Regions from separate parts of the Homo sapiens genome. Here regions 1, 2, 3, 4, 5 and 7 are each linked to region 6. The links are contacts of gene promoters, found by promoter capture Hi-C in blood cells and fetal thymus (Javierre and others, 2016). All regions are on one chromosome and are shown on one strand. The core of a region is centred on a gene start or on the middle of the fragment in contact, and the rest is flanking DNA. Distances in the headings are between cores, read along the strand shown. Region 1 has its middle 10 kb from the start of KRT14. Region 2 has its middle 1.7 kb from the start of LINC00974. Region 3 holds the start of KRT13 (keratin 13). Region 4 has its middle 4.4 kb from the start of KRT32. Region 5 has its middle 3.0 kb from the start of KRT24. Region 6 holds the start of KRTAP4-5 (keratin associated protein 4-5). Region 7 has its middle 9.6 kb from the start of KRT17.

The links. The method cuts DNA at HindIII sites, captures the fragments that hold promoters and counts their contacts. A CHiCAGO score of 5 or more calls a contact.
Region 1: a fragment that was not itself captured here is called in contact with the fragment with the promoter of KRTAP4-5 in region 6 in 2 of 17 cell types (total CD4 T cells and naive CD4 T cells); the score reaches 7.3 in total CD4 T cells.
Region 2: a fragment that was not itself captured here is called in contact with the fragment with the promoter of KRTAP4-5 in region 6 in 4 of 17 cell types (total CD4 T cells, activated CD4 T cells, naive CD4 T cells and 1 more); the score reaches 6.5 in total CD4 T cells.
Region 3: a fragment that was not itself captured here is called in contact with the fragment with the promoter of KRTAP4-5 in region 6 in 4 of 17 cell types (naive CD4 T cells, naive CD8 T cells, total CD4 T cells and 1 more); the score reaches 8.1 in naive CD4 T cells.
Region 4: a fragment that was not itself captured here is called in contact with the fragment with the promoter of KRTAP4-5 in region 6 in 1 of 17 cell types (naive CD8 T cells); the score reaches 5.2 in naive CD8 T cells.
Region 5: a fragment that was not itself captured here is called in contact with the fragment with the promoter of KRTAP4-5 in region 6 in 1 of 17 cell types (erythroblasts); the score reaches 5.7 in erythroblasts.
Region 7: a fragment that was not itself captured here is called in contact with the fragment with the promoter of KRTAP4-5 in region 6 in 1 of 17 cell types (naive CD4 T cells); the score reaches 6.0 in naive CD4 T cells.

Annotation. Positions count from the first base shown.
Region 1 is chr17:41,595,585-41,599,096 of GRCh38, reverse strand. No RefSeq gene overlaps it. Among named protein-coding and RNA genes, the nearest start is that of KRT14, 10 kb to the right of the region's middle. The HindIII fragment of the contact is 1,482 bases long and covers 1,478-2,959 here.
Region 2 is chr17:41,554,613-41,557,780 of GRCh38, reverse strand. No RefSeq gene overlaps it. Among named protein-coding and RNA genes, the nearest start is that of LINC00974, 1.7 kb to the right of the region's middle. The HindIII fragment of the contact is 4,431 bases long and covers 1-3,168 here.
Region 3 is chr17:41,502,957-41,506,572 of GRCh38, reverse strand. It overlaps KRT13 (keratin 13), which reads left to right and starts at 961. Exons shown (of 8, transcript NM_153490.3): 1 at 961-1,517; 2 at 2,848-2,930; 3 at 3,130-3,286; 4 at 3,475-3,616. The coding sequence starts at 1,023. The HindIII fragment of the contact is 1,600 bases long and covers 989-2,588 here.
Region 4 is chr17:41,469,966-41,473,555 of GRCh38, reverse strand. No RefSeq gene overlaps it. Among named protein-coding and RNA genes, the nearest start is that of KRT32, 4.4 kb to the right of the region's middle. The HindIII fragment of the contact is 4,488 bases long and covers 1-3,590 here.
Region 5 is chr17:40,705,153-40,708,370 of GRCh38, reverse strand. No RefSeq gene overlaps it. Among named protein-coding and RNA genes, the nearest start is that of KRT24, 3.0 kb to the right of the region's middle. The HindIII fragment of the contact is 4,290 bases long and covers 1-3,218 here.
Region 6 is chr17:41,148,364-41,151,575 of GRCh38, reverse strand. KRTAP4-5 (keratin associated protein 4-5) reads left to right here and starts at 1,751. Exons shown (of 1, transcript NM_033188.4): 1 at 1,751-2,652. The coding sequence starts at 1,809. The coding sequence ends at 2,354. The HindIII fragment of the contact is 5,677 bases long and covers 1-3,212 here.
Region 7 is chr17:41,632,367-41,635,961 of GRCh38, reverse strand. It overlaps the pseudogene KRT42P. Among named protein-coding and RNA genes, the nearest start is that of KRT17, 9.6 kb to the right of the region's middle. The HindIII fragment of the contact is 4,882 bases long and covers 1-3,595 here.

The sequences.
Region 1 (3,512 bases), core at 969-3,468, 450 kb before region 6:
TACCACCATCACTACCATTGCCACTACAATCACCAACACCACCACCAATACCATAATTACCATAATTACCACCATCACCACCACCACCACCACCACCATTATCCCTACCATCACCACCACAACCACTAGCACCACACCAATACCCCCACCACCATTACCCCCACCATTAACACTACCACCATCCCTACCATCACCACCATAATCACCACCACCACCACCAATACCATAATTACCATAATTACCACCATCACCACCACCATCACCACCGCCACCACCACCACCACCACCACCACCACCATTACCACTACCACTATCCCTACCATCACCACCACAATCACCAGCACCACACCAATACCCCCCACCACCATCACCCCCACCATTAACACTACTACCATCACCACCACCACCACCAACACCCCCACCACCGAAATCACCACCTCCCCACCACCATCACCAACATTATCACTACCACTATCCTTACCATCACCACCACAATCACCAGCACCACACCAATACCCCCACCACCATCATCCCCACCATCACCACCCCCACAGCCCCACCACCACCATCACTACCATCACCACTACCACCATCCCTACCATCACCACCACAATCACCAGCACCACACCAATACGCCCCACCACCATCACCCCCACCATCACCACTCGCCCCTGCACCACCACCACCACCACCACTGAAATCACCACCCCCACCACCACTACCACCACCACCACCACCACTGAAATCACCACCCCCACCACCACTACCACCACCACCACCATCACCACCACCATCACCACTACCACCATCACTGCCATCACCACCATAATCACTGCCATCATTACCACCATCACCACCCCCACCCCCACTACCACCACCACATCATCACCACCATTACCACTACCACCATCACCACCATGACCACCACAATCACCACCATCATTACCACCATCTCCATCTCCATCACCACCACCACCACCACCACCACCACTACCTCCAGTACCTCCAACACCCCCAGCACCATCATTTCCTTTCCCCCAATCACTCCTCCAGTTCTTTGAAGGGGGTGTTGCTCATATGGGTTAAGTTAGATGGGGAGTAACCAAAGTCTTGGGACACACAGACATCACTCAAGCTGGGACAGTCAAAGGACAGATGCACACTGAGTGCTGCAGTAGAACAGTCCTCGCTAGATGCTGACAGAGAGAACAACCAACAGAACACTGATGAGATAATTGAGATAACGAGGCAGCACAGACTTGGATACCCCCATGGGGCTCCCATGTGGCTCCCTGGGAGGCAGACAGTGCCTGGTCTGCCTTGTGAAGGCTGCACAGCCTCTGGATGCTGCCTCTGCTCCTGTCCACCTAGGCTGTCTCCCTGACCGTGGGGGCCCACCAACTCTTCTTCCCCTTCCCTCACCAATATCCTCCCCCAATCTGGTTTTCCCTCTTTCACTTTGTTTTATCCAGAAGCTTTCCCTTTGTCCCTCCTAGTCTCTTGCTTATGGCCTAAACCTCGAGGCTCATTGGCACGCTGGAGCTGGCTCATGCTGGCTCTTGAGAGCTGGACATTAAAATTTCAGGAATTTTGCAAGGTGATTGTTAAATATGGCCCTCATCAAAAATTAAATTATACGAACTTAAAATTAAATGAATTATATTGAGAACAAAGGTAATGCATACTGAAAACTCATTCCTTCCAAATTATTTTACTACATTGTACTAATATCTGTGCTCTTGAGGTACTTATGACCATTTTATCCATATGGTGGACATGCTATAAGGCAGTGAGCTACTGCACGTCTCTTCCCAACCCTGTGTTAAGTGACTCCCTGTTGGTTGCTTGAAATTGGCCACAGTGGGGGTATTTACAACACGAAAAAAATAAATGTTATAAATTGGGGCTTGATTTATTGTTTTATTGATTGTCTTTTTTTTTTTTTTTTTAAGATGGAGTCTCACTTTGCCACCCAGGCTGGAGTGCAGTGCTGTGGTCATGGCTCACTGCAGCCTTGACCTGCTGGGGCTTAAGCAATCCTTCCACCTCAGTCTTCTGAGTTGCTGGGACTACTGGTGTATGCCTCCATGCCTGGCTAATTATTTTATTTATTTATTTTTGTAGAGATGGTATCTCACTATGTTGCCCAGGCTTGTCTTGAACTCCTGGGCTCAAGTGATCCTCCTATCTCAGCCTCCCAAAGCGCTGGAATTACAGGTGTGAGCCACCATGCCCAGCCCTGAATTGCCTCTTTTAGAAGCTAATTCAAGCTGAGTTTCCGTTGCTTGCAACCAAAATGTGCCCATCAATATATCCTGTTACCTAATTCTTGATTTATTTTTCTTCTATCCTTGCTGGATATTTTTAGTTTTATTATAAATATGTCTTTTATCATAAGCCATCCATGCCCTCTTTTGGAACTGGGAGACAGAAATGGTCATTTTTTTGCAAATATTGCACTGACAACCAGGATGGCCTCATTGAAACCTGAGAGGCTGCTTCCCCATCCCCTCATTCCAGCCACAGAATGTGGGCCCTGCTGGAAGCTCCCAGGCCTTCTCCCCTCACACCTAAACCATCCGCTGACTCTTCCTCATCAGTTTCCAGGCCTGCCCTATTCCCACAGCCTCCACCCTGGCCAGGCCCTTGCAGACTCACCAGCCCATCACCTGGCCGGCTGACCTCAGCAGCTCCCAGCTCCTGCAACAGGAGCTCCAGTAACATCCTGGACTCTTCTCTGTTCTCTGCCTCAAGGTCTTTGGCTGAACCTTGACACCTGTTCTCCATTTGCATCCCCCACTCCCTTTGGTCTAACTTGGGCTTAATTTAAGTGAACTTTTACCAAACACTTCCTCTGTGCCCAGTACCATGCTGGCCACCTGCGCTGACTTACCCACTCCTCTCAATAATCCTGCCAGGCTGAACTGGTTCTATTCCTATTTGATGGAAAACCAAAGCTTGGACGGCTGCAATGGCCTGTCCAAGGTCACATGGCTCGTCAGTGATGGAGCCAAGACTTGAAAGCTGGTCTTTCTGATCGGGAGGCCCTGCTCCTTCCTTGATCCCATGCGGTATCCCGTCTGGGGGAGGGAGGTGGGGTGCAAGATGCTGAATCTGTTCCCACATCTCTGACTGTGGGAAATGACTCTTTCTATCCATGAGGCTAGAACTACTCGGCGACCCCTTCCCTTCCTCTTTCCCTTTCCCTCTGTCCTGCCGACCAGAGCTCAGGACTCCTGACACAGACATTCCGACTCCCAGGTGCTGACTCTCCCCGCAACTCACCACTGTGCTGGAGTTCCCACAGCCACGCCCTCTCCCCACTCCACCCTCCAGGGTTCTTCCTTCTTTCAAAACCTGAGTCAAAGCGCACCCTTTCCAAGAAAACTTCTGTGTGCTAATCCACCCCACCTTGTGGCTCCTGTGCTCCTGGCTCCCCTCAGCCTATGGCACAGGGAAAACTCTGGGCTCTGCAACCCTCCTCCATCAGACTGGACAGCCCACGGGCAAGG
Region 2 (3,168 bases), core at 370-2,869, 410 kb before region 6:
ACAAAAGAGACAAAGATTTCTGCCTCTATAGAGCTTGCATTATAGGTAAGGGTTGGGCAAGAGCAACAAATGTAATAAAGAAATAAATAATACTATACTTGAAGGTGGTAAGTGCGCAAAGAAGTAGGGAATATCAAGGGAGATTGGAGTGCTATGGCAGGGTGGGGAGGAGAGCAATGTTAAATAGGATGGCCAAGGTTGGGTTCACTGAGAAGGTAAAACATAAGCAATGACTTTGCGATGGAATAGTTGCCCTGACGCCCTTCATGGGCGGGAACTGGAGCACTTTGTTTTTTGTTTTTGTTTTGTTTTTTTTTGAGACTGAGTCTCGCCCTGTTGCCCAGGCTGGAGTGCAGTGGTGAGATTTCAGGTCACTGCAACCTCCGTCTCCCGGGTTCAAGTGATTCTCCTGCCTCAGCCTCCCGAGTCGCTGGGATTACAGGCACGGGCCACCAAGCCCGTCTAATTTTGTATTTTTAGTAGAGATGGGGTTTCTTATGTTGGGATTACAGGCACACACCATCACGCCCAGCTAAGGAGCACTTTGTTTCACTCAGCCTGTTGCTGGCCACTCCTTGTGGGAGTGAGTGTGTGAGCAAGTGTGGGAACCGGAGCAAATGAACGCTGGAACCAGCCGGTTGCTCCTCTCTGGCAGGAGCAGGCTCTGTTCGGGCCCTGCAGCAGCGTCCCTATTCTTTCAGCTGTGCTGTCAGGGGATGGCCAAATACCAACCAGTTCAATGGAGGTTCAGGGTGGCAGCCCCTGCCTTCTTGGCACCCAGGTTCTTGTCTGGCGTCCAGGAAGAAGAATCAGGTCACATAAACTGTTTGAAAGGTGACGAATGCAAAATACTTTACTGGGTGTTGGGTGGCTCTCAGTGGAAAGGGAGGATGGAAAGGTGATGGGATGGTGATCTTTCCCTGAAGCCCCACCGTCTCCGGCAGGGCCCCTCTCCAAAGCTGCACCATCTGAAGTTAGCCAGATCTATCCACAGTCTCCGATGCTCAGTTGCTTTTCTGCTCGCCGCTCAGCTGCTTATATCCTCAGTGCTCAGCCGCTTGTGTTGCTCTGCCAGCTGAAGTCTTTTATGGGCACAGCATGTGGGCAGGCAGGCCAAAAAGGTAACATTTTTGGGGAAAATGGGGTCCTTTAGGGCCGAGGTTCCAGGCTTAAGGGTAGGGTTTAGCCAGGAGCCCAGCCCTTCTGTATCAACTTGACGGAGTGAGGGAGGCAGTCAAGCGTGTGTGGGGACCACTCCAGGCACAGCAGCTAGTGCTGATGATCATCCTAACACACAGTGCCTTGAGCAGAGGAGTGACAGGCCACTTGATGAGAGGCTGCGAGGCTAGGAGCAGAAACAGAGAGCCCAGTGTGCAGGGAGGTGAAGAGCCCCTGGCACTCAGAGTGAAGACGGTCAGAGGTGGCTGGATTCTGAGCATCATCTGAAGAAAGCACTGCCAGGAGTTCTTGAAGGACTGCATATTGTAAAAGAAAGAAGTCAAGGAGGTCTCTGAGTCTTTTGTCTGAGCAACTGGATGATAGGAGTTGTGGGATGGAAGTTGGCTGGTATGAAAGATGGGGAGTCAGTTTCAGACATGCTAAATTTACATTGTCTTTTGGACACCCAAACGGAGATCTTTTAGAAGTCTCATGCCAGTAATCACACTTGTTACTAAATTCTGTAGCCATCAGGGTTTTTGCCTGCAAAGATCAGAAGCCACACTCTGAAGCCAGTTTGTTAAAGGATGTTAGGTAAGCCATAGACTCTCCAGGAAGAACTCGCAGGGAACAGGTTTGAAGGCAGCACAGCCCGGAGCAAGCCCACCCTTGCCACTATCTGCAGGTGCAGATTCAGTAGCCCATTCCACTTGGCGCTATCACCAAACTTGTGGCGCTGCTGCTTCTAGAAACTGGAGGTCTGCAGTTATTCCTTCCAGCATGGATTCCACCAGGTGCCTCCTTTTTTAGGACATTAGCTCCCAGCTTACAGGCTTCTGTGATGTGTGTGACTGATCATGTGTCTGTGCTCCAGCTGCAAGGGAGGCTGGAAGGCTAATTTCTGGCTTCTATAGCCAGGAGGCACAGACACTAGAGGGAGAATTCCTTTACAAAGGAGCTGGGCGACTAAGTGTAAGAACAATTGTCCACAAGGAAGGAGCAAGGACTAACACTGATTGCGCACTTAATAATGTTCCAGGCACTTCGCTAAGCATTTTATATAAGATAAGGGAATAAACCCTGTATCTAATCTTCACAGCAATCTCATGATGCTGTCCTTGTTTTCATTTTACACATGAGGAAACATTTTTAGCGAGATTAAATGACTTGCTGAAAAGGTCACACAGCTCCTAAGCAGTGGAGACAGGAACTGAATCTAGGAAGTCTGATCCAAGGACACTGGGATTATGAAGCCCATTTTATAGATGAGGAAATTCTAAGTTAGAGAGGTTAAGTAACTTGTCCAAGGTCACATAGCTTGTAAATGATCAAGCAAAGATATAATTCCAGTTTGGCCTGGCTCCAAAGCTGGTGCTCTGTTTCCTGTTCTCTATGGCCTTGAGCAATTATTGAGCCCCAAAAGAATACAGAGGCTAGCAAATCCCATAAGCAGAGGCTTGTCAAAAATACCTTATGTGGGCTGGGTGTGGCGGCTCATGTCTGTATTCCCAGCACTTTGAGAGGCTGAGGTAGGAGGATCACTTGAAGCCAGAAATTTGAGATCAGCCTGGGCAACAGAGCAAGACCCCGCATCTACCAAAAAAAGAAAAAAATATTGGACAGGCATGGTGGCATGCACCTGTTGTCCTAATTACTGGGTTACTTGGGAGGCTGAGGTGGGAGGATCACTTGAGCCCAGAAGTTTGAGGCTGCTGTGAACCATGATCATACCACTGTACTCCAGCCAGGGCAACAGAATGAGACTGTCTCTAAATTAAAAAAAAAAAAAGAAAAAGAAAAGAAAAAAAAAGGAAAGAAAAAAGGCTTACGTGGGAAGCAATGACTGTATGAAGAGCTGAGAATAAGACGAGTGACCTGGCACAGGTAGATTCTTTCCTGGGATCTCAGATTCCCCCTAGAAGGCCCTGGGTCTGTGCTTGTCAAAGGAAGGAATGGGTGAATGAGCAAACGGTGCAGGGAGGAGGATGACAGAGGAGGGTCTCTATTATT
Region 3 (3,616 bases), core at 539-3,038, 350 kb before region 6:
GTGTTTACACAGGTCGTGCATACCCATGCGTGACATCAAGCTGGACACGTGATCTATACATTTTACTGTATGAAAAATGTACCTAAAAAATGCACCTTAGCGTCAGACAGAACCAGACTTGGATTTCAGTCCTGATTCTGCCCTTAAGGTTCATTTTCCTCATGTGTAAATGGGGGCAATAGTAGGACCCTCCTCCTGTGGCTGCTGTGAAGGTTAAATGAGATGATGAGTGTAAAGTAACTTCACCCAGTTCCTGCCTATGGTGAGGGCTCGGAGAATATTCGCTATGATAATGGACAGGGCCACTTCCTCTTTCCATGCCTGAGTTTCCACAGCTGTGTCTGATGGTCCCTAAGATCCCTTAAGGTCTCTGTCACTGTGACTTTTTCTGATGGCCTCGGAGCTATTTCTTTCTCAGTCTAAATACTTTCAAGGCAGGTGATTCTATCGAACCAAGCAAAGTTTGTCATCAGAGTTGCTGGGGCCCCTGGAGTAGATGAAGTGCTAAGAAGGATCCAGGACATCCCAGTCAGAAGTTTTAGGTATAGAAAAAAGGAAGGTCGAGGGCTACGGTGACCTTGCAAAGCACAGAGCCACTCTGCACCCACCACTTTCCTCGCAGAAGCTCCTGGCAGGCCTCCGCATCTCAGGTCCCGTTCTAATACTGGGTGGGGCTCAGAGCCTGCACAGTGAACTCCTTAAGTGGAGGTGAAACAGAATTCACTTGTCAAAAGGGCAGTCTCAGGCAGAATGCTGTCCCCTCTGAATCATTCTTTTTGTTAAGGATTAAAAAAAAAGCCACCCCCAAAAGGCACAACCCACCCTGGAGAGATCAGAGATAACTAAGCTTGTGGGAAACAGAAGTGTAGTTGGCACCAAGTCAGAGGGTGGGGAAGGGAGGAGAGAAGATAACCAGCCCCTATGGAGGTGTATAAAAGGTGTCCACTCTGGGGAAGAGCCACAGTCCTCGGCCCAGGCCAAGCAAGCTTCTATCTGCACCTGCTCTCAATCCTGCTCTCACCATGAGCCTCCGCCTGCAGAGCTCCTCTGCCAGCTATGGAGGTGGTTTCGGGGGTGGCTCTTGCCAGCTGGGAGGAGGCCGTGGTGTCTCTACCTGTTCAACTCGGTTTGTGTCCGGGGGATCAGCTGGGGGCTATGGAGGCGGCGTGAGCTGTGGTTTTGGTGGAGGGGCTGGTAGTGGCTTTGGAGGTGGCTATGGAGGTGGCCTTGGAGGTGGCTATGGAGGTGGCCTTGGAGGTGGCTTTGGTGGGGGTTTTGCTGGTGGCTTTGTTGACTTTGGTGCTTGTGATGGCGGCCTCCTCACTGGCAATGAGAAGATCACCATGCAGAACCTCAACGACCGCCTGGCTTCCTACCTGGAGAAGGTGCGCGCCCTGGAGGAGGCCAACGCTGACCTGGAGGTGAAGATCCGTGACTGGCACCTGAAGCAGAGCCCAGCTAGCCCTGAGCGGGACTACAGCCCCTACTACAAGACCATTGAAGAGCTCCGGGACAAGGTGAGCCCTTGGAAGCTGAGGAGGGGTCCTCCATGAAGGGCAGAGCCTCCAAGGCCAAGAAACACAGTGTTGTGGGGGACTAGGTGTGGACGGAATTCACAAACTTCTTGCAGGGGAAAAGCCTACTGTTTGACTACCAAGAGTCTCTACCTCTGATGGGCTTTCTCATGCCACAACTCCCCAAATGCATTTTCTCTCATTATTCATTTTTATGATTGTTATTACTCAGGTCAGTTTTTTTACTGCTTTCCAGACAGTTATGTTATTCATGACTCGATCTCTATAATCCTAACCTACTGAGTTATCTGGAAACATGACAGGTTTAAAAGCCATTAAGAATGCATGAAATCAACAGAGAAAGAGAGACGTGTTCATTCATTGCCCTGGGAATAATTGTTTACTTTGTAGGGGACCCATTCAAACTGGTATTCTCAACTGGCGATGGCCAAGTTGGGGGAGAGAGAGGCAGAGGCTTAGGCAGTGCCGAGCCTGGGTGCCCTTTGTTGAGCCCTGTCTGTTGTGCTGTGATACCAGCCTGTTGGAGCAGAAATCTACCAGCCTGGGCTGAGTCTCAGCCATGTGGAGCAGGCTTTCACTGCTTTGGAATATAAACGTTTAGACAAGAAATTCAAAGGGATGGGAATATTTGTTGGATTTCCCCTCCACTCAGCTGGGAAGTCAGCTCTAGCAAAGTGATTGTGAGATATGTGGCACCAAGCCGAGTCCCTCCTGACTTTCAGGGGATGGATCTCAAGACAGTGGCCTAGGGAGGGTGCTAGTCTGAGGCTGCCAAGACATGACGAACCAAAGATGTTCTCAGCAGGTCGTTCCTCAGAAATGCACTCCCTGCATCTCCCCCAGGGTGCTCAGACATGGAATATTAAAGTGTTAGAAACGATTGGAGGGGATGCAGCCCCACTCCTCACTTTACAGAAGAGCAATGGAGGCCCAGAGGGAAATGCCTTGTCCCAGCTCACAGGACAGTTTAGAGGTAGAGCCCCATGGGAACCAGGTCCTGCCCATGTTTTCCCAGGCCACCTCCTCAAGCACGTGGACCCCCCAGAGCAAGCTTGTCTAACCTGTGGCCGGTGGGCTGCATGTGGCCCAGGACAGCTTTGATTGAGGCCTAACACAAATTTGTAAGCTTTCTTAAAACATTGAGTTTTTTTTTATTTTTTATTTTTGCCAATTTCTTTTTAGCCCATCAGCTATCGTTAGTGTTAGCGTATTTGATGTGTTGCCCAAGACAATTCTTCTTCCAATGTGGCCCAGGGAAGCCAACAGACTGGACACCCATGCCCTAGAGGTTACCTTCTTCTGCATTTTGTAGATCCTGACCGCCACCATTGAAAACAACCGGGTCATCCTGGAGATTGACAATGCCAGGCTGGCTGCGGACGACTTCAGGCTCAAGTGAGTTTTTTTTTTCCCCCTCCCTCTCCTTTCCCAGGAGTCTCTTAGTTTAGACAAAAGCTCATCTGACCAATGACACTGGAGCATCCCAGGAGTGAAGGTCTGGAAGTACTGGAGTCTCGTGCAGGGGTAGGGAGAATGTCTCATATCATTTATGTCTTGCTTTTTCAAAAAACATTTCATTTTTTTACTATTTTAGGTATGAGAATGAGCTGGCCCTGCGCCAGAGCGTGGAGGCCGACATCAACGGCCTGCGCCGGGTGCTGGATGAGCTCACTCTGTCTAAGACTGACCTGGAGATGCAGATCGAGAGCCTGAATGAAGAGCTAGCCTACATGAAGAAGAACCATGAAGAGGTGAGCGGGAATTGCAGGCTGCCCTGGGCTCAACAACCTCCAGTGAGAAGGAGGAGCCCTCCCCTGCAACTGGACACAGTCCTCCACTGTGGGACCTGGAAACACTCTCCAGAACACTCTGCCAGCACTCAGAGCCAAGGAGAGGGAGGATGAGTAGCCTCACACATCTTCCTTTCCCATCCCCACAGGAGATGAAGGAATTTAGCAACCAGGTGGTCGGCCAGGTCAACGTGGAGATGGATGCCACCCCAGGCATTGACCTGACCCGCGTGCTGGCAGAGATGAGGGAGCAGTACGAGGCCATGGCAGAGAGGAACCGCCGGGATGCTG
Region 4 (3,590 bases), core at 367-2,866, 320 kb before region 6:
TCCCGGGTTCACGCCATTCTCCTGCCTCAGCCTCCCAAGTAGCTGGGACTACAGGTGCTCGCCACCAAGCCCAGCTAATTTTTTTGCATTTTTAGTAGAGACGGGGTTTCACCGTGTTAGCCAGGATGGTCTTGATCTCCTGACCTCGTGATCTGCCCGCCTGGGCATCCCAAAGTGCTGGGATTATAGGTGTGAGCCACTGCACCTGGCCTCAATCTGCTTTTATATGAAACCTGGTCTTTCCTTCACAACGGAAAACTCTGCTCACGCTGGCATTTGGGACTGCACCTCACAGCGACAGCCTCTCAGCATCATCCTGGAGCCCCTGCTCCTGGTTCCTGTCTCTCTCCTCCTCATTCCTTCCTTCCAGGATTGTCCTGTGAACTTCAAATCCTTCTCTCCTTTCACCCTCTGATGTCTTACCAGCCAAATCAAGGCATTAGGGTCCCACCTTTTAACCCAAGATCTTCTTAATGTAGTTTCCCAAGTAAAGACATTTTTTTTCCTGCAAGATGAATTCTGGTGACAGCTGTTAAAATATATGCAGGCACACTTCGATTTATTGAGTTTCAATTTATTATACTTCCCAGATATCGTTTTTTTTTCTTTTTTCTTTCTTTTTTTTTTTTTTTTTTTACAAATTAAAGTTTTGTGCCAATCCTGCCTAGAGCAAGTCTGTTGGTGCTAATTTTTCCAACAGCATGTGCTTATGTGTCTCTGTGTCACATTTTGGTAATTCTCACAATACAAATTTTTTCTTTTTCTTTTTTTTTGAGACAGAATCTGGCTGTCTGCCCAGGCTGGAGTGCAGTGGCGTGATCTCGGCTCACTGCAACCTCTGCCTCCTGGGTTCAAGCAATTCTCGTGCCTCAGCCTCCCAAGTAGCTGGGATTACAGGCACACCACGCCTGGCTAATTTTTGTAATTTCAGTAGAGATGGGGTTTCGTCATGTTGGCCAGGCTGGTCTCGAACTCTTGACCTCAAGTGATCTGCCCACCTCAGCCTCCCAAAGTGCTGGGATTACAGGTGTGAGCCACTGCGGCTGGCCAAACTTTTTCATTATTGTATGTGTTATGGTGATCTGTGGTCAGTAATCTTTGATATTACTGTTGTAATTGTTCTGGGATGCACCAAACCATGCCCAGATAAGATGGGGAACCTAACTGATAAACGTTGCGTGCGTTCTGATGGCTCCACCAACTGGCCATTCCCCCATCTCTCTCCCTATTTTGGGTCTACCTATTTTCTGAGACACAGCAATATTGAAATTAGGCCAATTAATAACCCTACCGTGGCTTCTAAGAGTTCAAGTGAAAGGAAAAGTTGCAGGTTTCTCCCTTTAAATAAAAAGCTAGAAATGATGAAGTTTAGGGAGGCGGCATCTTTCATAGCTAGACAGGAGGAGTCTGCCTTCAAAACCTTCAAAGGATGGGCTGACTCTCTTGCTAGGAGCTAATGCAGCTGATGACTTCAAGTGGGAAGTCAATGCTCATTTACCATTCTGAATATCCTAGGGCACTTAAGAATGATGCTAAATCTTTTCTGCCTGTGCACTACAAACGGAACGACAAAGCCTGGACGACAGTGCATCTGTTTATAACATGGTTTACTGAATATTTTAAGCCCACTGTTGAGACCTACTGCTTAGAATAAAAGGTTTCTTTCAAAATATTTCTGCTCATTGACAATGCATCTGATCACCCAAGAGCCCTGATGGAGCTGTCCAAGGAGATTAATGTTTTTGTGTTTGCCAACACAACATCCATTCCACAGCCCATGGATCAAAAACTAATTTTGACTTTCAAGTCTTATTACCTAAGAAATATATTTCATAAGGCTATAGCTGCCATACAGAGTGATTCCTCTGATGGATCTGGGCAAAGTAAATTGAAAACCTTCTGAAGAGGATTCACTATTCTATATGTCAATATTTGTGATTCAAGAGAGGAGGTCAAAATATCAACATTAACAGGAGTTTGGAAGAAGTTGATTCCAACTCTCATGTATGATGTTGAGGGGCTTAAGACTTCAGCAGAGGAAGTAACTATAGATGTGTTGGAAACAGCAAGAGAATTAAAATTAGAATTGGAGCCTGAAGATGTGACTGAATTGTTGCCATGTTATGGCAAAACGAACGGATGAGGAACTGCTTCTTATTCATGAACAAAGAAAGTGGTTTCTTGAGATGGAAACTACTCCTGGTGAAGATGCTGTGAACATCACTGAAATGGCAACAAAGGATTTGGAATACTACATCAATTTAGTTAATAAGGCAGTGGCAGGGTTTGAGAGGACTGACCCTAGTTTTGAAAGAATTTCTACTGTTAAAATGCTATCAAACAGCATCACATGCTACAGGGAAATCTTTCATGAAAGGAAGAGTCAACTGATGCGGCAAACTTCACTGATGTCTCATTTTCAGAAATTGCCACAGCCACACTAACTTGCAGCAATCATCACCCTGATCAGTCCTCAGCCATCAACATTGAGGCAAGACCTTCCACCAGCAAAAAGATTATAACTTGCTGAAGGCTCAGATGATCCTTAGCATTTTTAGCAATAAAGCATTTTTAAAATTAAGTTATATACATTGTTTTTAGGCCATAATGCTATGGTACACTTAATAGACTATAGTATAGTGTAAATATAATGTTTACATACACAGAAAAACCAAAAAGTTTGTGTGACTCACTTTATGGTTACATTTGCTTTATTGTGGTGGTCTAGAACTGAACATGCACTATCTCTGAGGTATGCCTGTATCTTCCTCTATCTCAGTGGGTCTCCAAACCACCTGAAGGACATGCTAAACACAGGCTGCTGCATCCCAGCCCCAGCCTCAGAGTTTCTGATTCAGCCAGTCTGGGATGAGCCTGAAAAACTGCATTTCTTTTTTTTTTACATTTTATTTTTATTTTTATCAAAGCAGTGTATCTACATTGTTTAAATAAAACAACATTAAATAGCAAATATTTAAAAACTGCAACATCTATGCCTTCTTTCTTTCTTTATTGTTATTATACTTTAAGTTTTAGGGTACATGTGCACAATGTGCAGGTTAGTTACATATGTATACATGTGCCATGCTGGTGTGCTGCACCCACTAACTCGTCATCTAGCATTAGGTATATCTCCCAATGCTATCTCTCCCCCGTCCCCCCACCCCACAACAAATGAGAACACATGGACACAGGAAGGGGAACATCACACTCTTTTTTTTAAAAATTTTACTTTAAGTTCTGGGATGCATTTGCAGAATGTGCAGGTTTGTTGCATAGGTATACATGTGCCATGGTGGTTTGCTGCACCTATCAACCCATCATCTAGGTTTTAAGCCCCGCATGCATTAGGTATTTGTTCTAATGCTCTCTCTCCCCTTGCCCCCCATCCCCCGACAGGCCCTGGTGTGTGATGTTCCCCTCCCTGTGTCCATGTGTTCTCATTGTTCAACTCCCACTTATGAGTGAGAACATGTGGTGTTCGGTTTTCTGTTCCTGTGTTGGTTTGCTAAGAATGATGGTTTCCAGCTTCATCCATGTCCCTGCAAAAGACACGAACTCATTCTTTTTTATGGCTGCATAGTATTTCA
Region 5 (3,218 bases), core at 537-3,036, 440 kb after region 6:
GTCTTATCTGTGGAGCCTGGAGGACAAAGCATCCCAACCCCCGCAAAGTCACTCACCCATTCTCTTAATTCTCCATAAACTCACGGAAAGATCTTCAGGAAACATAGAGAATTGAGTTATTTAAAGAGATTTGAAAGCACTCACATACAAGAACAAAGCCAGGTGATTTTTCTTCCCAGAACAAAATTTGGCAAAATGGCATGACCAAGCAGATGCTTCCTGGTGGAGAAGAGGAAGCCTTCAAATAGACACACTTAAGTGAAACCAGGAAGAGAAAGAATGGACGAGGGTGGTGGGGAAGGAGAGAAAGTGATGAAGGAAGAGAAACAGCCACAGAATTGGTGGATTTCTGGGGTGTGACAATGACACACCCAATCCATCGACGGGTGGTGCCAGATCTACTGGAGTGGGCTCTTAGTCATGTTATTATTGCAAAACCTTTTTTCTCTTCCAAGTAGTTGACCCTGGCGGGGCCTAGAGCAGCCACCAGCAGGAAGCTGGCCCAAACAATGATTCCCTACAGGAAGGTCCCCGGTTGACTCTTGCCTGACCTTTCTGCCCTCTTCCCAAACAACATTTCCTCTTACTGCCAAGCCCCGCTCTCCGCCACCACACACTGAGAATCACTAACCCAGAAGTGGAGCATAAAGATTCAGAAAACAAAACACAACACATAGTAAAGAACAAAAGTAATCAGTGATCCAAGTTGTTCATGAAGAAAATCAGGCCATGTTAGTTTTTATTAATTCAAGGAATATTTATTGTCTATCTACTATCTGTCATTGCAACGGCATTGCAAAGAGACTGTTCACACATCAAATTTATACTTTCCAATGTGTCCAAAAGAAAGAAAATTGCTATATTAAAGAGATGTCTGTGCTCCCATGTTTATTACAGCACTACTGACAAGATTTAGAAGCAACCTAAGCATCCATCAACAGTAGAATGGATAAAGAAAAAGTGGCACAGGTCAGGCGCGGTGGCTCATGCCTGTAATCCCAGCACTTTGGGAAGCCAAGGAGGGCGGATCACGAGGTCAGGAGTTCAAGATCAGCCTGGCCAACATGGTGAAACCCTGTCTCTACTGAAAATATGAAAATTAGCTGGTCATGGTGGTGGGTGCCTGTAATCCCAGCTACTCGGGAGGCTGAGGCAGGAGAATCGCTTGAACACAGGAGGTGGAGGTTGCAGTGAGCCGAGATCGCGCCATTGCACTCAAGTCTGGGTGACGAGAGTGAAACCTGTCTTAAAAAAAAAAAAAAGTGGCACATATACACAACGGAGTACTATTCAGTCATGAAAAGAATGAGATCTTGTCATTTGCAACAACGTGGATGAAACTGGAGGTCATTATGTTAAGTGAAATACGCCAAGCACAAAAAGACAAACTTTGTGTATTCTCACTTACTTGTGGGAGCTAAAAATTCAAACAATTGAACTCATGAAGATAGAGAGTAGAATGATGGTTATCAGAGGCTGGGAAGGGAAACGGGGGAGTAGGGGAAAAGTGAGGACGCTTGATGGGTACCAAAAATAGTTAGAAAAATGAATAAGACCTAGTGTTTCATAGTATAACAGAGTGACTATAGTCAATAATAATTTACTTGTATAATTTATAATAACTAAAAAATAGTATAATTGGAATGTTTGTAACACAAAGGATAAGTGCTGGAGGTGATGGGTACCCCATTTACCCTGATGGGATATGTACACCTATATCAAAATATCTTATGTACCCCATAAATCTATATACCTACTATGCACCCACAAAAGTTAAAAGTTAAAATTTTTTTAAATGTATATTTTCCCTTCTTTTTTACTGTCTGCCACAGAAAGTTTTGTCAACATTCAACAAATACTCTAAACCCAGCAACTTCCCTTAACTACTCTGATGTGATGCTTCTATTTGAAAAACACAAAACAGTATATTTTCTTGAATGAACAGAAGATAGAATACCCAAGTTCTGTTCTCAATTCTGTAAAGATTCATCAGGAGCCATATGCCATGCATTTCAGTATTTGGTTTTCCTACTAGTCTAAAAACCTGCAATATGTTAATCTGAAAAATATTTAAATACTAATAATCTATCCCCCACACACACAAAAAAAAATTGATGGTTACTATCTGCAAATCATTCTGCACTTATTATTAAAATCATATTCTATAAGGAAATATAGCTTTTATATGTTTCTTTACAGGTAGAAATAAACTTCTAATCACAAACTATTCAAAATTTGAACTGGGAGCCCAGACACCTAAGATTCAGTCTGTCTCTCTCTCTCTGTCTTTTTTTTTTTTTTTTTTTTGAGATGGAGTCTCGCACTGTCGCCCAGGCTGGAGTGCAGTGGCACAATCTCTGCTCACTGTAAGCTCCACCCACCGGGTTCAAGCAATTCTCCTGCTTCAGCCTCCGAAGGAGCTGGGATTTAAACGTGCTTTCAGCCAAATGCAAGTCTTTATGAAAATTGAAAGATTACATTTCATAGTTTTAAAAGGGAGAAACACTCTGTGACTGTTCCTCCCATTGCCAGCATTTGCATACCATTTAATCATTAGGGTTTAGTTTTCTTTGGTTTCACAGCTTTAGGGATGGGCGAGGCAGGATGACCAACACATTATGTGTGGTGCATTTTTTAGCTACTTTAGAAGGGCGTTATAAAAATTACTCCCAGCTTAACAATTTAAAATTTTGTACACCATGTACCCCTTGGAGATATGTCACCCTAAATATGAAGAAGAGTAACATCATACTCCTGTGAAAACAGTACAGGTAGATCATAAAAGCCACATAAGAGCTACATAGTAAAGTGAATGATTACCTATTTAATCATGTGTCCCAATAAAATGCAATTTAAGGAAAAATTTAAAGCAGAACATTGTTTAACAAATAATTGAATATAAAGATTAAGGTGTGAACATAGTTTAACAGAGACTGGCAAAAGAAGGAAGAAATTCTTAAATAAACAAAAGTCAGCTACTTAAGTTTAAAGCTAAGGAGGATACAAACTATTTCTGGAAGCACCTGTTTTTTAAGACTTTTTAAAAATTGTGGTAAAATACATATAACATAAACTTATCATCTTCATCATTTATAAGTTTACAGTTCAGTAGTCTTAAGTGTACTGACATTGTTGTGCAACCAATCTCCCAAACTCTTTTCTTTTTTTTTTTTTTAGACGAGTCTCACTCTGTCTCTGAGGCTGGAGTCCAGTGGCAC
Region 6 (3,212 bases), core at 502-3,001:
AGTATTGGCAAGGATGTGAAAAAAACTCCCTCGTACACTGTTGGTGGGAATATAAATTAGTTCAGCCATTATGGAAAACAATATAAGGGTTCCTCAAAAAATTAAAACTGGAATTACCGTATTATCCAGCAATCCACTTCTGGGTACCTTATATATCTACAGGAAATGAACTTAGTATGTTGAAGAAATAACTGCATGTCCAGATTTATTGCAGCACTATTCACAATTGCCAAGATATGCACACAGTGCAAGTGTCCACCAATGAGTAAGGGGATAAAGAAAATGCAGTATATACTCAGTGCAATACTATTTGGCCGTAAAAAGACGGAAGTTCTGTCATTTGTGACAACATGGATACATCTCAAGGAAATTATGCTAAGTGAAGTAAATCAGTCATAGAAAGACAGATAGCACATGATCTCACTCACATGATCGCACTCAAAAAAGTTGATATCATAGAAGTAGAGCAGAGAATGAAGATAATCAGAGGCTAGGGGTGGCTAGGGAGTCAGGGGCTTGAGGAGATACTGGTCAAAAGACATATAATTGTAGCTAGACAGGAAGAATCAGTTCAAGAGGTCTACTGTATAGCATAGTGACTATAGTTAATGATGATATATTGTACATACTGTATTCTTGAAAAATTCTAAGAATGGATATTAAGCGTTCTCACCACAAAAAAATGATAGGTATGAGAGGTAATGCATTTATTAGCTAGATTTAATCCTTCCACAATGTATATATACTTCAAAATATTATGTTGTATGTGGTAAATACAATATTATACGTCAATCTGAAAAATAACTAATTGTTTTTAATTTCACTGAGCTTGAGTTCTTTCTATATTAAGCACATCATGCAAGACACAGTAGTGGGGGTAGATAGATTCTTAAAAGTATTATACAGGTGTTACACAGTGTTAGGGAGCCTGGGTGAAGTACAGACAGCCTCTCCTGGGACTGTTTGTTACAGCTGTATGTAAATCTACAATTATCTCAAATTTCTTTTTTAAAAAGTGAAAACACACACCTGCATTATGTTAACAGACAGTTAGAGGCATTTAAAAAAAACAATGAGTTATGGAATAAAAATGGGACTATGTCTTCCGGAATCTAATAGATTAACTGGAGAGACATGACACAAAATATAGGAGAGCAAAGTATCAATTTAAGAAACTGACCCATTAGTAACACCAAGTATAAAAATTTAAGGATATGGAATATGACCCAAAATTTGAAACATTCAGGGAAACCCATTTCAATAGTGTAGAGGTCACCAAGGCCACATGCAGGTATTGCTATCCCTTTGCTTATTGCTTAATAATGACCCACAGACTAGGAATGCCACACTGAGCAGATGGGTTTTCCTCGCTATTGGTCACTAGAGGGAATGCATAACTGGAAGTGTGACTGACCAAATCCCATTTTGGTAGAGGGTACCTGAAGCGAGAGTAAGAAATGCAATTCCAAATGCAGGGAATCACATGAACAGCCCTCTGTGGAGGAAGAGGAAGAGAACGTGGTCTAGAAGATGCTACCGAGGTGTGAATCATGAGAGAAGGCAGACATGATAGATCTTATTACATCCGGACAAGAAAATTTTGTTTTCAACAAGTTTAAACCATTAAATGGGCAAACATTATTGTGTAATCTGATAATCACTTAGTTATTAAGTAAACAAAAACAAGGAAAATGTAGTACCAACAAGACAGCTGGGCAGTATATAAGAGGCTGTGGCCCAAGGACACTTCCAAACTTGAGAACCTCATTCTTCTAGAAATCCACCCAGAACCTCCACCCTCTGACACCATGGTCAGCTCCTGTTGTGGCTCTGTCAGCTCTGAGCAGAGCTGTGGCCTGGAGAACTGCTGCCGCCCCAGCTGCTGCCAGACCACCTGCTGCAGGACCACCTGCTGCCGCCCCAGCTGCTGCAAGCCCCAGTGCTGCCAGTCTGTGTGCTACCAGCCCACCTGCTGCCACCCTAGCTGCTGCATCTCCAGCTGCTGCCGCCCCTATTGCTGTGAATCCAGCTGCTGCCGCCCCTGCTGCTGCCAGACCACCTGCTGCAGGACCACCTGCTGCAGGACCACCTGCTGCTGCCCCAGCTGCTGTGTGTCCAGCTGCTGCAGACCCCAGTGCTGCCAGTCTGTGTGCTGCCAGCCCACTTGCTGCCGTCCCAGCTGCTGCATCTCCAGCTGCTGCCACCCCTCTTGCTGTGAATCCAGCTGCTGCCGCCCCTGCTGCTGCGTGCGTCCAGTCTGTGGCCGAGTCTCCTGCCACACCACTTGCTATCGCCCAACCTGTGTCATCTCCACCTGCCCCCGCCCCTTGTGCTGTGCCTCCTCTTGCTGCTAATGTCTCCTTGTGATATTTGTCATACTATGAATGTCTTCATTAGTCATTTAAAATGCACTGTAGCCAGCCAGTCACTGGAAAAATGAACACTTCCCTGCCAGTTTGTCTCATGTGGCATTCAGAGTGGACATTCAGCTCTTCTAGGAAATGACAGACAATCACATTCATTAAAATATGTTATGCCAGGCCCCAATGCAGTTATTTTTAGATGAGCAGTGTCTTCATTCGAAGGGGACACTAACTGTGATGATCTCATATAATATTGTTTTCATGTATTAATAAACAGCCACTTCCCTAATATTGAAATCTTCTGATTTGTTAGTGATCTCATTGTGCGTGTGTGTGTGTGTGTGTGTGTGTCTTTACCTGTCAGTTCACATCAAGGGCCATCTCTCTTCAAATGCAGGAGAGCATGTTTAAGAGCCTGGGCTCTTGATTCATGTTCCCTGCATTGGAATCACGACTCCCCTAGGTATTTGTTGCGTGGCATGGGGCAAGTTTTTTAACCTCCTCAGGCCTCAGTTTTCTTTCTCTGTGAATAGAGATAATGCATTACATTCTTTAAATGTTAAGAGACATAACCCATGTAATATACTCACCACAGGGCCTGGTACATAATGCAGTATAGGCTCTTAATGGATACAGTTTCTGGCCGAGCGTGGTGGCTCACATTTGCAATCCCAGCACTTTGGGAGGCTGAGTGGGTGGAACACTTGAGGCCAGGAATTCGAGACCAGTGTGGGCAACATAGTGAAATCCCTTCTCTACTGAAAGTACAAAAATTAGTTGGGCGTGTTGGTGCACACCTGTAGTCCCAGCTACTTGGGAGGCTGAAGCAGGTGAATCACTTGAACCCAG
Region 7 (3,595 bases), core at 744-3,243, 480 kb before region 6:
CTGGGTCTCTCTCCTCCCCGAAGACAGTCCTGGATTGCCAGGAAGTCCTTCCAGATGTCTAACCTCGTGCTCATGGTGGTCTGACCTTGCTCTCTAGCCTTGGTTTTGAACCTCCCCCCATCCCCGCCCAGCACCTTCACAGGCTGGGCGGGAGCAGTAAAATCAGGGCTCAACCGCTCTCTTCCAGATAGCTCCTGCCATTCCCAGCTGGCACAGTCCCCAGCTGGCACTTTCCGTGAGAGACCACCCACTATCTGAGCAGGAAGTCTTTCCAGCAGTGTGGTCTCATCTGGGAGCTCTGGGCCACATGGAAAACCCAACTCCCTCCCTGTCCCCGTATGCGGGCAGAGAGCCCAGGCCACCCATGCACTTCTCTCCCCTCTCCTGTTCCGCGGGCCCTGGCTGCCCTGGGAAGCTCCACATTCAGACAGGCCTGGTGCAGACGCCGGTGTCCTGGCAGCACCTAAATCATTAGTGCCGCGGAGATTAGGATACTAATCTCCTTGTTGGGTGGAGCGGTGCCAGCCACCAGCCTGCGGATCATGCTGCTCTTTTGCAGGGGCCGTTCCTCGGGGCATGACGCTGGCTCCTGCACAGATCCTGCTCCTCTGTGGCCTTCCTGGGCTGCCCTCCCCTCCTCCGGGACTGCTCTGGACTGACATTGCTCAGGTTCGGGTGAGGAGGGAGGCTGCCCTAACCCTTTGGCCTCAGACCCCTGCTCCCAGCCCCACCTCTGCTTCCTGTTTTGTTAGAGCCTTACTGACGTCATTATCTCTCCAGATTCCCTCAAAGACTTTGGGAGACAAGACTTGGTCCCCCTTTTACAAACGAGGGAACGGAGGCTCTAGAACTGACTTCCTGAAAGGCTTGGATCCAAAGCTCCCTCAGTTCAGCGGCCACGTCTATTTCCCTCAGACACAGGGATCCTTGAACCTGTGGGCTGTATCTCCCCGCGGACTTGGAAGAATCCCAAGAGAGTGGGGCTCCCACAGGTCAGAGGCTAATTCTGCCTCCTCTGACTGGGAGTCTCCACCAGGGCCACGTTGTACCTGGGCAATGATGTCAGGCCCCGATCTCTCCACCCTTACCCCAGGGCCCTGGAATGCTGGGTGAGGGGCCAGGCCAGCCTCCGGCTCCTGGCCTGTGCAGCCTTGTCCTGTGCCCGTGCTGGCTCCCAGGGCTGGGTTCTCCGGGCTCCCCACAAGAATAAGCTCAGCCTCCTAACTGTGGCTGAGGATGGAGGGTCACCCTACCCCAGGGCTACAGACCAGCACCACCTTTGTTTCTTTCTTTCTTTTTTGAGACAGATTTTTACTCTTGTTGCCCAGGCTGGAGTGCAATGGTGTGATCTCGGCTCACTGCAACCTCCACCTCCCAGGTTCAAGCTATTCTCCTGCCTCAGCCTCCTGAGTAGCTGGGATTACAGGTTCGTGACACCACGCCCAGCTAATTTTTGTATTTTTAGTAGAGATGGGGTTTTGCTATGTTGGCCAGTCTGGTCTCAAACTCCTGACCTCAGGTGGTTCACCTGCCTCTGCCTCTCAAAGTGCTGGGATTACAGGCGTGAGCCACCGTGCCTGGCCACCACCTTTGTGTCTGAACAGACCGCTGAGGCCCTGGTGCTCAGGCTGGGCTCTTGCTATGGAGGGGTCCTTGGGGAGGCTCTCAATATGTCCAGCCTGAGCCCCAGGCCCTGGGTGGGTGGGAGGAGGCAAAATACACTCCTGGGGTTTTGGCCTGAACTTCAAGGGCCAGGGTCCCAGCCCCACTTCAGCCCGGCTGTAACGGGCTACCCAGGGTCTCCATCCAGACCAGACTCTTCACCCGACCCATGGACACCCTGGTTGTCACCACTACCAGCATCTGCCAGTTCTCCACCTCTGGCTCTGTCAAGGGCCTGTGGACACCTGGCGGGGGTTTCTCCTGGATGTCATCTGTCAGTGTTGGGGGTGCCTTTCGCCAGCCTCCTGGGAGTCAGCAGCTGTGGCAACATGTCGGTCACCTCCTCCTGCTTCTTGGTGGGACTTGGGGGAGGCTACAGCGGTGGCTACACCTGTAACCTGGGTGGGGGCTTTGGCTCCAGCGTTGACGTGGCGGATGCCCTGCTGCGGGGGCGGTGAAAAGACCATGCAGAACCTTACTGACCACACACACAGCACACACATACACACAAACACCACACACAACCACACACACACATACACACACACAAACACCACACACACCACACACACCATCACACACATACACACAAACACCACACACACACCACACACGTACACACACAAACACCACACACACCCCACACACATCACACACATACACACACAGAAACACCACACACACACCACACACAGCACACACGTACACACACACAAACACCACACACCATACACATCACACACTACCCCAAACGCCACGCGCCCCACTCACACCTCACACTCCCAGATTCACACACAGGCGCATGCCCACCGATCGATACACACACACTAAAAGACTCCTATATACACATTCACACATAGCTCACAGGCACATCCACATACACACATACTACATACACACACACATACCACACACCTACACATATACCCACCACACCCCCAACACCCCCTCCACACATATTAGTCACACACCCCCCCAAACCCCCCACACCCTCTCCAACACATATACACACCCACCCAAACATACCACACACCACACACACACTCATACACATCACACACTACACAAACATCACACACATACACACCACACACACCACACATACACGCGCACGTACACGCACACACACCACACACACACCACACACATCAGAGACACACAGCACACACACATCACACACATATACACACACAAACACCACACAGACCATACACATACACACATACACGCCACACACACATCACGCACACACCACATATACATCACAGACACACGCAAACACCACACACACACTCCAAACACATCACACACATACACAAACACCACACACACCACACACATACTCACCATACACACCATAGATACATCACACACACACTCACCACACACACCACACACACATACACATACACACAGACACCACACACACACCCCACACCACACATGCCACACATATTCCACACGCACCACACACATACACACTACACACACACCATACACATATATACCCACAACCACCCATGTACCACACACCACACACACCACACGCATATACACACCACACACACAATACACACAGATCTCACACACACATACACACCACACACACATATACACCACACCACATGCATACCACACACCACACACACCACATACACACATACTACATACACATAAACACCACACACATCACACACCACACACCACACACACATCACACACCACACACACACACACATACACACACACTCTCTCTCATGACCTCTAAGAACATGGCTTTGGCATTCTGTAAACATGGCCACTTTGTCTTCTGCACAAACCCTGCCCTGGAGGGTCCTACAGAGCAAAGCCACCAGTGGCAGGTGAGGAGTGCAAGTGATGAGTATGGTGGCCAGGGGGGCCAGGGGAGCCAGGGGAGGCAGGCGGGAGTCAG